Linked DNA regions of Homo sapiens: region 2 is linked to region 1. Evidence: promoter capture Hi-C in 16 types of primary human blood cells and fetal thymus (Javierre and others, 2016). All regions are on one chromosome and are shown on one strand. The core of a region is centred on a gene start or on the middle of the fragment in contact, and the rest is flanking DNA. Distances in the headings are between cores, read along the strand shown. Region 1 overlaps VPS51 (VPS51 subunit of GARP complex). Region 2 holds the start of CDC42EP2 (CDC42 effector protein 2).

Region 1 (3,724 bases), core at 695-3,194:
TGTTCACATAAAAACATGTACACAAGTGTTCATAGCAGTGTTTTTTTTTTTTTTTTTTTTTTTGAGATGGAGTCTAGCTCTGTCACCCAGGCTAGAGTGCAGTGGTGCCATCTTGGCTCACTGTAACCTCCGCCTCCCCAGTTCAAGCGATTCTCCTGCCTCAGCCTCCTGAGTAGCTGGGATTATAGGTGTGCACCATCACACCCGCCTAATTTTTTTATTTTTATTTTTTGTATATTTACTAGAGACGGGATTCCACCTTGTTGGCCAGGCTGGTCTTGAACTCCTGACCTCAAGTGATCCGCTTGCCTCGGCTTCCCAAAGTACTGGGATTACAGGCAAGAGCCACCATGCCTGGCCAATAGCAGCACTTTTTATAATAGCCACAAGGTGGAAGCAATCCAAATGGCCATCAATTGAATGAATATAAACAAATATCCACACAGTGGAATATTATTCAGCCATAAAAATAGATATAACATACTGACACAGGCTACAACATAGATTAACCTTGGAAACATGCTAATGTTTCATATGCCTATGATTCCATTTCTGTTAAATGTATTCTGTAGCGAATAGACAAATCCATAGAGACAGAAACTAGATTAATGGTTGCCAAGTTCTAGGAGTGGGGGAATAAGGAATGACTGCCAAGGGTTACAGGGTTTCTTTAGGGGATGATGAAATGTTCTGGAATTACGTAGTGAGGTTGGTTGTACAACCTTGTGAATATATTAAACATATTAAAAACCACTGAATTGGTATGTCAATTATATCCCAATTAAAAAGAAAACCAGGCATTGAGCCAGATTTGGCCTGCAGGCTGTAGTTTGCCAACCTCTCACCTAGACATTGAGTTTCATTATGTAATAATGCATTTACTTGTGTCAAAATTAGAAAGATCTCAAACATTATACAGGGAAAAGCCTCTCCTAATTCTTTTCTCTAGGCAAAGACAAAGCAGTCTTTGACAGTACATTTCACTGAAAATTAACAGAGCCCAGGTGGGATTATGGCTCATACCTATAATCCCAACACTTTGTGAGGCAGAGGCAGGCAGATTGCTTGAGCTCAGGAGTTCGAGACCATCCTGGCCAACAGGTTATACCTGTCTCTACAAAAAATACAAAAATTAGCTGGGTGTGGTGTTGTGTCCCTGTAGTCCGAGCTGCTCAGGAAGCTGAGGTGGAAGGCTTGTACCTGGGAGGCAGAGGTTGCAGTAAGCCAAGATTGTGTCACTGCACTCCAGCCTGGGTGACAGAGCCAGACCTTGTCTCAAAAAAAAAAAAAAAAAAAAAAAAAAAAAGAAAATTAACAGACATACAGAAAAGTGCACATAAGTGGACAGCTCCATGGATTTCACAAAGGGAGCACAGTCACATAATCAGCATCCAGGTCGGGAAACAGCATAACCAGCAAAGCCCCCTGAGCCTCCTACCAGTTACCACCCAGTCCCCTCCCAAGGTAGCCAACATCCTCGCATCCAGATGGCTTTCACTCTCCCTGGTTACAAACTGCTTTTCTTAACAAGCTTTTTTTTTTTTTTTTTTTTGAGACAGAGTCTTGCTCTGTCATCCAGGCTAGAGTGCAGTGGCCCAATCGGCTCACTGCAACCTCCGCCTCCGGGGTTCAAGTGATTCTCCTGTCTTAGGCTTCCAAGTACCTGGGATTACAGGCACCTGCCACCACACTTGGCTAATTATTGTATTTTCAGTAGAGACGGGATTTCACCATGTTGGTCAGGCAGGTGACCTCAGGTGATCCACCTGCCTTGGCCTCCCAAAGTGCTGGGGTTACAGGCGTGAGCCACTGTGCCCAGCCTGCTTTTCTTAACAAGCTTGAAATGCAAAGATAAACAGTGTAGTCTTTGTGACTGAATGGTGTGGATGCTTTCACTGTTGTTTTTGGATATGGTACAACTTTTATCTCCAGTGTAATGGCTCCATGGCTGGGAAGGCAGCGACAATGACAGCACACAGCACTGTTGGGTTTTCTTTTACTCTATTTTCCTAACAACTTAGTGTTTGGATTTTACCCTTTAGAAGTTGGATTCAAGCTTCCTTCTTGAGGTAGCCCCTAAGTGTCATGGGCTCAAACACCCACTACCAAAAGAGTCTGCTCTTTTCATGGTAGCTTTTGGCAGACCTGGAAGGAGATTGTGTCACATGGCCTGTAAACAAAACCAGTAATTCACTGGGTGAAGACCAAATGCCTCATCAACTGCCAAGCCTCTGTCTGTCTCCCTTAGATCAGTAGCCCATGATCCCTTTACGAACCTCAGCCTCGGCTCTGCTTTTATTGTTTTTCACTGCATAGCGCTGCCTTTGCTATGTCCTTTAGTTCACCATCTATGAATTGGCAAGAAAAATTTTCTTGCCAGGCACAGTGGCTCACTCCTGTGCTCCCAGCACTTTGGGAGGCTGAAGTGGGAGCATTGCTTGAGCCCAGAAGTTTGAGACCAGCCTGGGCAACATAGAGAGACCCCATCTCTACACAAAATTTAAACAAAAATTAAAAAATTAGCCGGGTGTGATGGCGCTTGTGTGTAGTCCCAGCTACTTCAGAAGCTAAGGTAGGAGGATCACTTGAGCCCCAGAGTTCAAGGCTGCAGTAAGCTGTGTTTGCACCACTGCATGCCATCTTGGCTCACTGTAACCTCCGCCTCCCCAGTTAAGGTGATTCTCCTGCCTTAGCCTCCTGAGTAGCTGGGATTATAAGTGTGCATCACCATGCCTGTAGACAGAGCAAGACCCTATCTCAAGCAAAGAAACTCAAAATAATTATGATTTCCCCAACAAAATGCAGGCAATGGTCCCTATGGTCCCAAAAGTAATATAGATGTTTCACATCATGTGATTTTATTCCTTAGTAACCTTCCTTTCTATGAAATCATCTCTAAGAGGGCTAAATGATCCTTTCTTGTGGACTGTGTTGTTAAAATGAAAAGTCCATTTTGCTGATACGTAATCTACCTTTCCATGTAATTTTTTAAAAAATCCCTTAATAGCTCTACAGATGTGAGCCCTGTAGATTCTTTGTCTCAGACAGTTCTTTCTCTTATATTTTCTCTAATATTTTTTTCCTGCATTTTTTGTTTCTGTTTGTTTCTTGTCAAATTGACATCAATGCTTTTCTCCTTACTCACCCTTCCAGCTGTCTCCCCAAGTGGGGTAGATTCCCAGTGTTGCTTGGAGAACATTCCTACAGTCCCAGAGCCACACACAGACCAGGTGTGGGTGTGTGAAGGCTCACAAGTGATTGCAGTTAGATATTTCCAGATTCTTCTTTGTAAATGCTGATCAGTTTGCATAACCACCAGCAAAGAAGAGAATACCTCTTTCAATCTTTGACAATCTGAGAAGTGAAAAGTGGTATCTCTTATTGTTTATAGTAACGTTTACAGGGTGTTTTTTTTTGTTTTTTTTTTTTAGGGCTTTCTATTTATTCAATTATTATTATTTGAGACAGAGTGTTGCTCTATTACTCAGGTTAGAGTGCAGTGGCACAATCTCAGCTCACTACAACTTGTGCCTCCAGGGTTCAAGCGATTCTCCTGCCTCAGCCTTCCCAGTAGCTAGGATTACAGGCACCTGCCACCACGCCCAACTACTTTTTGTATTTTTACTAGAGACAGGGTTTTACCATGTTGGCCAGGCTGGTCTCAAACTCCTGACGTCAAGTGATCTGCCTGCCTCGGCCTCCCAAAGTGCTGGGATTACAGGCA
Region 2 (3,724 bases), core at 596-3,095, 210 kb after region 1:
ATCTCCTGACCTCGTGATCCACCTGCCTTGACCTCCCAAAGTGCTGGGATTACAGGCATGAGCCACGGCGCCCAGCCCTCATTGGCAATTTTCATTTCCATTTCTCATGTAACAAAACATATTCATAGATTACACAGGTTCGGATGTGGGCTTTTTTTCTTTTCTTTTTTTTTTTTTACATGGGTTTTTGCTCTATTGCCCAGGCTGGAGTGCAGTGGCGTGATCACAGCTCACTGCAGCCTTAACCTCCCAGGTTCAAGCAATTCTCCTACCTAAGCCTCCAGAGTACCTGGGACTACAGGCTTGAGCCACCATGTCCGGCTAATTTATTTGTTGTAGAAACAGGGTCTCACTATGTTGCTCAGGCTGGTGTCAGTGTCAAACTCCTGGACCCAAGCAATCCTCCCACCTTGGCCTCCCAAAGTGCTGGGATTATAGGCATGAGCCACAGCACCTGGCTAGATGTGAACATATTTAGGGGGGCTGTTATTTTACCTACCATGATCCCCTTCTTCCCATCCGGACCTCCCAGCTTGTCTGGCATCTTCCCCCACCCCCAGCATCCTGCCTCCCCCACTGAGGTCTTCCCGGCTCTGCCTCCCTAAAAGCCCTTCCCACACTGACAGCATTGAAGCCAACCATCCTGGTCACACTGAGCTGGCATAGCTGTCATCCTCTAGAAAGTGAGGTCTGTCCACCCCGTCACTACCCACCACTTCCTCTGCCCCACTCTTCTTAGCACTTACCCACCTGGAAGGGTATCATGATGTACCTGGGAACTTGGATTTCCCCCATTTCCCTTCTCTGGGCTGCAGGTCCCAATCCAGAGGCTGAATCCCCAGGGACAAGAACAGCGCTAGGCACTTGGTAGATACTCAACAAATCTCTCTTGAGTCACTGAGAGGTGCAGTTTCCTTCAGTCTGTCTCCAGCACCCTGTGCGGTGCCTGCCCTTCAAAACATGTTTCTGGGCCGGGCGCGGTGGCTCACGCCTGTAATTGCAGCACTTCGGGAGGCCGAGGCGGGCAGATCACTTGAGGTCGGGAATTCGAGACCAGCCTGGCCAACATGGAGAAACTCCGTCTCTACTAAGAATACAAAAATTAGCCAGGTGTGCTGGCACATGCCTGTAATCCCAGCTACTCGGGAGGCTGAGGCAGGAGAATCTCTTGAACCCAGGAGACGGAGGTTGCGGTGAGCAGTCTGGGCAACAAGAGCGAAACTCTGTCTCAAAAAAAAAAAAAGTTTCTGGCCCTGTAGGAATGACTGACTGACTGACTGAAAGAATGAATGGACCAGGAACTAGTCTGAATATGAGCCCCACCTTCACTCTGGAAGCCTGACAGCAAAGACGGGGGTCCAGGCCACGCGGCCTCTGCCTTCCCATACTGTCTTTTCTAGTGGGAGGTAAACTGATCAACTAGCTTGTAAGTTTGTAGTATTCTAACGTAGGCGCTTCCAAGGAAGTCGCTGAATATACTTGTGCCGGCGCTTCCCCGACGCAGCCCTGCAGGGAAGGATCCGGTCCAAGGTCTCTCTGCGATTTCTGAAGAATTCGGTCTTCCCGGAGCCTCTCCCCCGGCTCTTCTAGAACCGAAGGTTTTAGTTCCCATGGGCACAGCCGGAGGCCGCCTGCGCCACCCGGCCCTCAGCCGCCAGAACCAGGACAGGACTCCAGGGCGCGCGCGACCGCTGGACCCGGGAGCGGCACCTCCCACGCCGGGAGCCCCGGGCGGTGCCCGGAGTGGGGCGGGGCCTGGGCGGGGATGGGGAGGGGCTTGGCTGGCGCGGCCCCGGCATTGGCTCCGCGGGCCGGGGCGGGGCTGCGGGGTCCGCGGTGCACTCTGTAAGTTCACCGCCGGTCGGGTCCGGCCGCCGCGCTGTCCAGCTCCTGAGACCTTGCTGTCCGCCGGTCTGCCGTCTGCGCGCCTCACGGTGAGTTCGGGCTGGGATTTTCGCAGCTTCGCGGGGGTCCCCCGAGAGGCCCATCTCTGTGGCGCCCCGCCCCAGCTCGCGCCCTGGCTCTGCCTCTCACCTCACTCAGTTCCTTTCGAGGGCTCCTAGGGCTCCATGGGGCTTCCCACCCGCATCTGGGTTCCCGCAGCCTCGCCCGTGCCCGCCACGGTCCGTGGGGGCGCAACGCATCCCGACCCCGAATTCCCCGTTCTGCCCTCCATTTTGTGTCCGGGCCCCCGCCCCCCTCCCGAGACCCAGGGGTGCCCCGCCGCCCAGCATCCCCACCGGGGCTGGGGGCCGTATTTTTAGCCGATAGTGAGTTGTTCTCCTATCTTTAGCTGCGGCCGCGAATGTCCTGAAACGGATCCGGGCTGGGCTGGGCTCCGCCCGGGTAGGAGTGGGGAGGGGTCGGCGCAGGAACCCGAGCCGGAGCTAAGGAGCCGGACCCGTGGGAGGGGCGGGGGCCCGCACGCCCGAGCTCTGGCCCTGTGCCGAGCGGACACTAGGACATCGCCCAGGCCGGAAAGCACAGGGGGGAGGCTCCTCCCAGAGCTTGGAGACTAGGGCAGGGTCCCCAATCGCCCCCTTTTTCCCCGATTGTGGGACCAGAAACCCCGAAGCAAAAAGATCTCGCAGGTAATCCCCATCTGGTACTTGAACGCGCAGCTCCTTGGGGACCGCCTGCCTGGAGCCCGGGGGAGGGGCGCTGGAGACCCCGGTGCGCTCTCGGAGTCCTCCGGGACACGAGGCGATCAAGGGAGCACGCGCGCCACCTGGCGGCCGCGGAGCCGGGCACCTCTCCGGAGGCACCGGGACCCCGGGAGACCCAGCGGCCGCTAGAGGGTCTCTGCATCCTCGAGGTCTAGGAGGGCGGGAGGAGGTGGACGCCTGGGGTCAGGAGCCCTTCGTTTTTGCTATTGTTCAAAGCACTGGCCCCGGAGAATCGAAGTGCTTGAGGAAGGAAGGCCTTGTAGATATTTGCTGAATGAATGATAAAACCTACAGTGACCCGCTGAACCCCGCTATTGTACATTGGCGCTCTCACCTGCAATATTGCAGTGGGATCTCCAGTGGCCCTTTAGTGGTGGCTTCGTTGTCAGCCCATTTTATAGATGGGAAAGGTGAGACCCAGAGAGGAGAGGCGTCTTGCTGAAGGTTACTGAGGAAGTCCCAGGTGGAGCTGGATTTAAGGACAGTCTCCTGATTTAGGAGAAGAGGGGGTGTGAGGTGGCCTAATATTCTTCATGATAGGAGGATCCCTGCCTGCCGGAAGTCATTTTCTCATTGGGAGGTCCAGGGCTCCTGTCCAGGGCAATCACAGAGAGCTAGGATGCTCCTATCTGCTCCCCGACTGCTGCAGGGAGCTCCCCTCCCAGCTCCCCACAGCCCTGTCCTGATGGAGACCTCATTCTCATATCTCTGGACACATGAAAGTTGGGCAGACGGGGGCAGCCAAAGGTCAGGATGTAGATGGAGGAGATCTGGGGACCCACTGTTCCCAGCCTAGCTGTGAGCCCCTTTCTCTCCCGCTCCCCAAACATATTATGGAAGTAGGCGTGGCCCACTGCATGGGAACCACGTGGACCAGGCTGGGTACCCACTCTTCCACTTCCTAACTGGATGACGTCGCCAATGTTACTTAACATCTCTGAGGTTCAGCTTCGACTTCTGTAAAGGGCCGTAATGACCCCACCATGCCGTGACTGGGAGCTTTAAGATGAGAAACTGTGCGTGGCAAGCTGGATCCTAGGGTCTTGCAGTTGCCAAAT

What was found. Contacts are between HindIII fragments. The CHiCAGO score rates a contact against its expected background, and 5 or more counts as called.
Region 2: the fragment with the promoter of CDC42EP2 here is called in contact with a fragment that was not itself captured in region 1 in 1 of 17 cell types (megakaryocytes); the score reaches 5.1 in megakaryocytes.

What each region holds. Positions count from the first base shown.
Region 1 is chr11:65,100,486-65,104,209 of GRCh38, forward strand. The region is part of intron 2 of VPS51 (VPS51 subunit of GARP complex); the gene reads left to right. Among named protein-coding and RNA genes, the nearest start is that of VPS51, 6.1 kb to the left of the region's middle. RefSeq lists a silencer at 1,752-2,046. The HindIII fragment of the contact is 219 bases long and covers 1,836-2,054 here.
Region 2 is chr11:65,313,021-65,316,744 of GRCh38, forward strand. It overlaps CDC42EP2 (CDC42 effector protein 2), which reads left to right and starts at 1,846. Exons shown (of 2, transcript NM_006779.4): 1 at 1,846-1,934. It overlaps LOC105369344 (a long non-coding RNA gene), which reads right to left and starts at 1,669. Exons shown (of 3, transcript XR_007062727.1): 1 at 751-1,669. RefSeq lists silencers at 1,504-1,883, 2,344-2,473, 2,644-2,803. The HindIII fragment of the contact is 12,136 bases long and covers 1-3,724 here.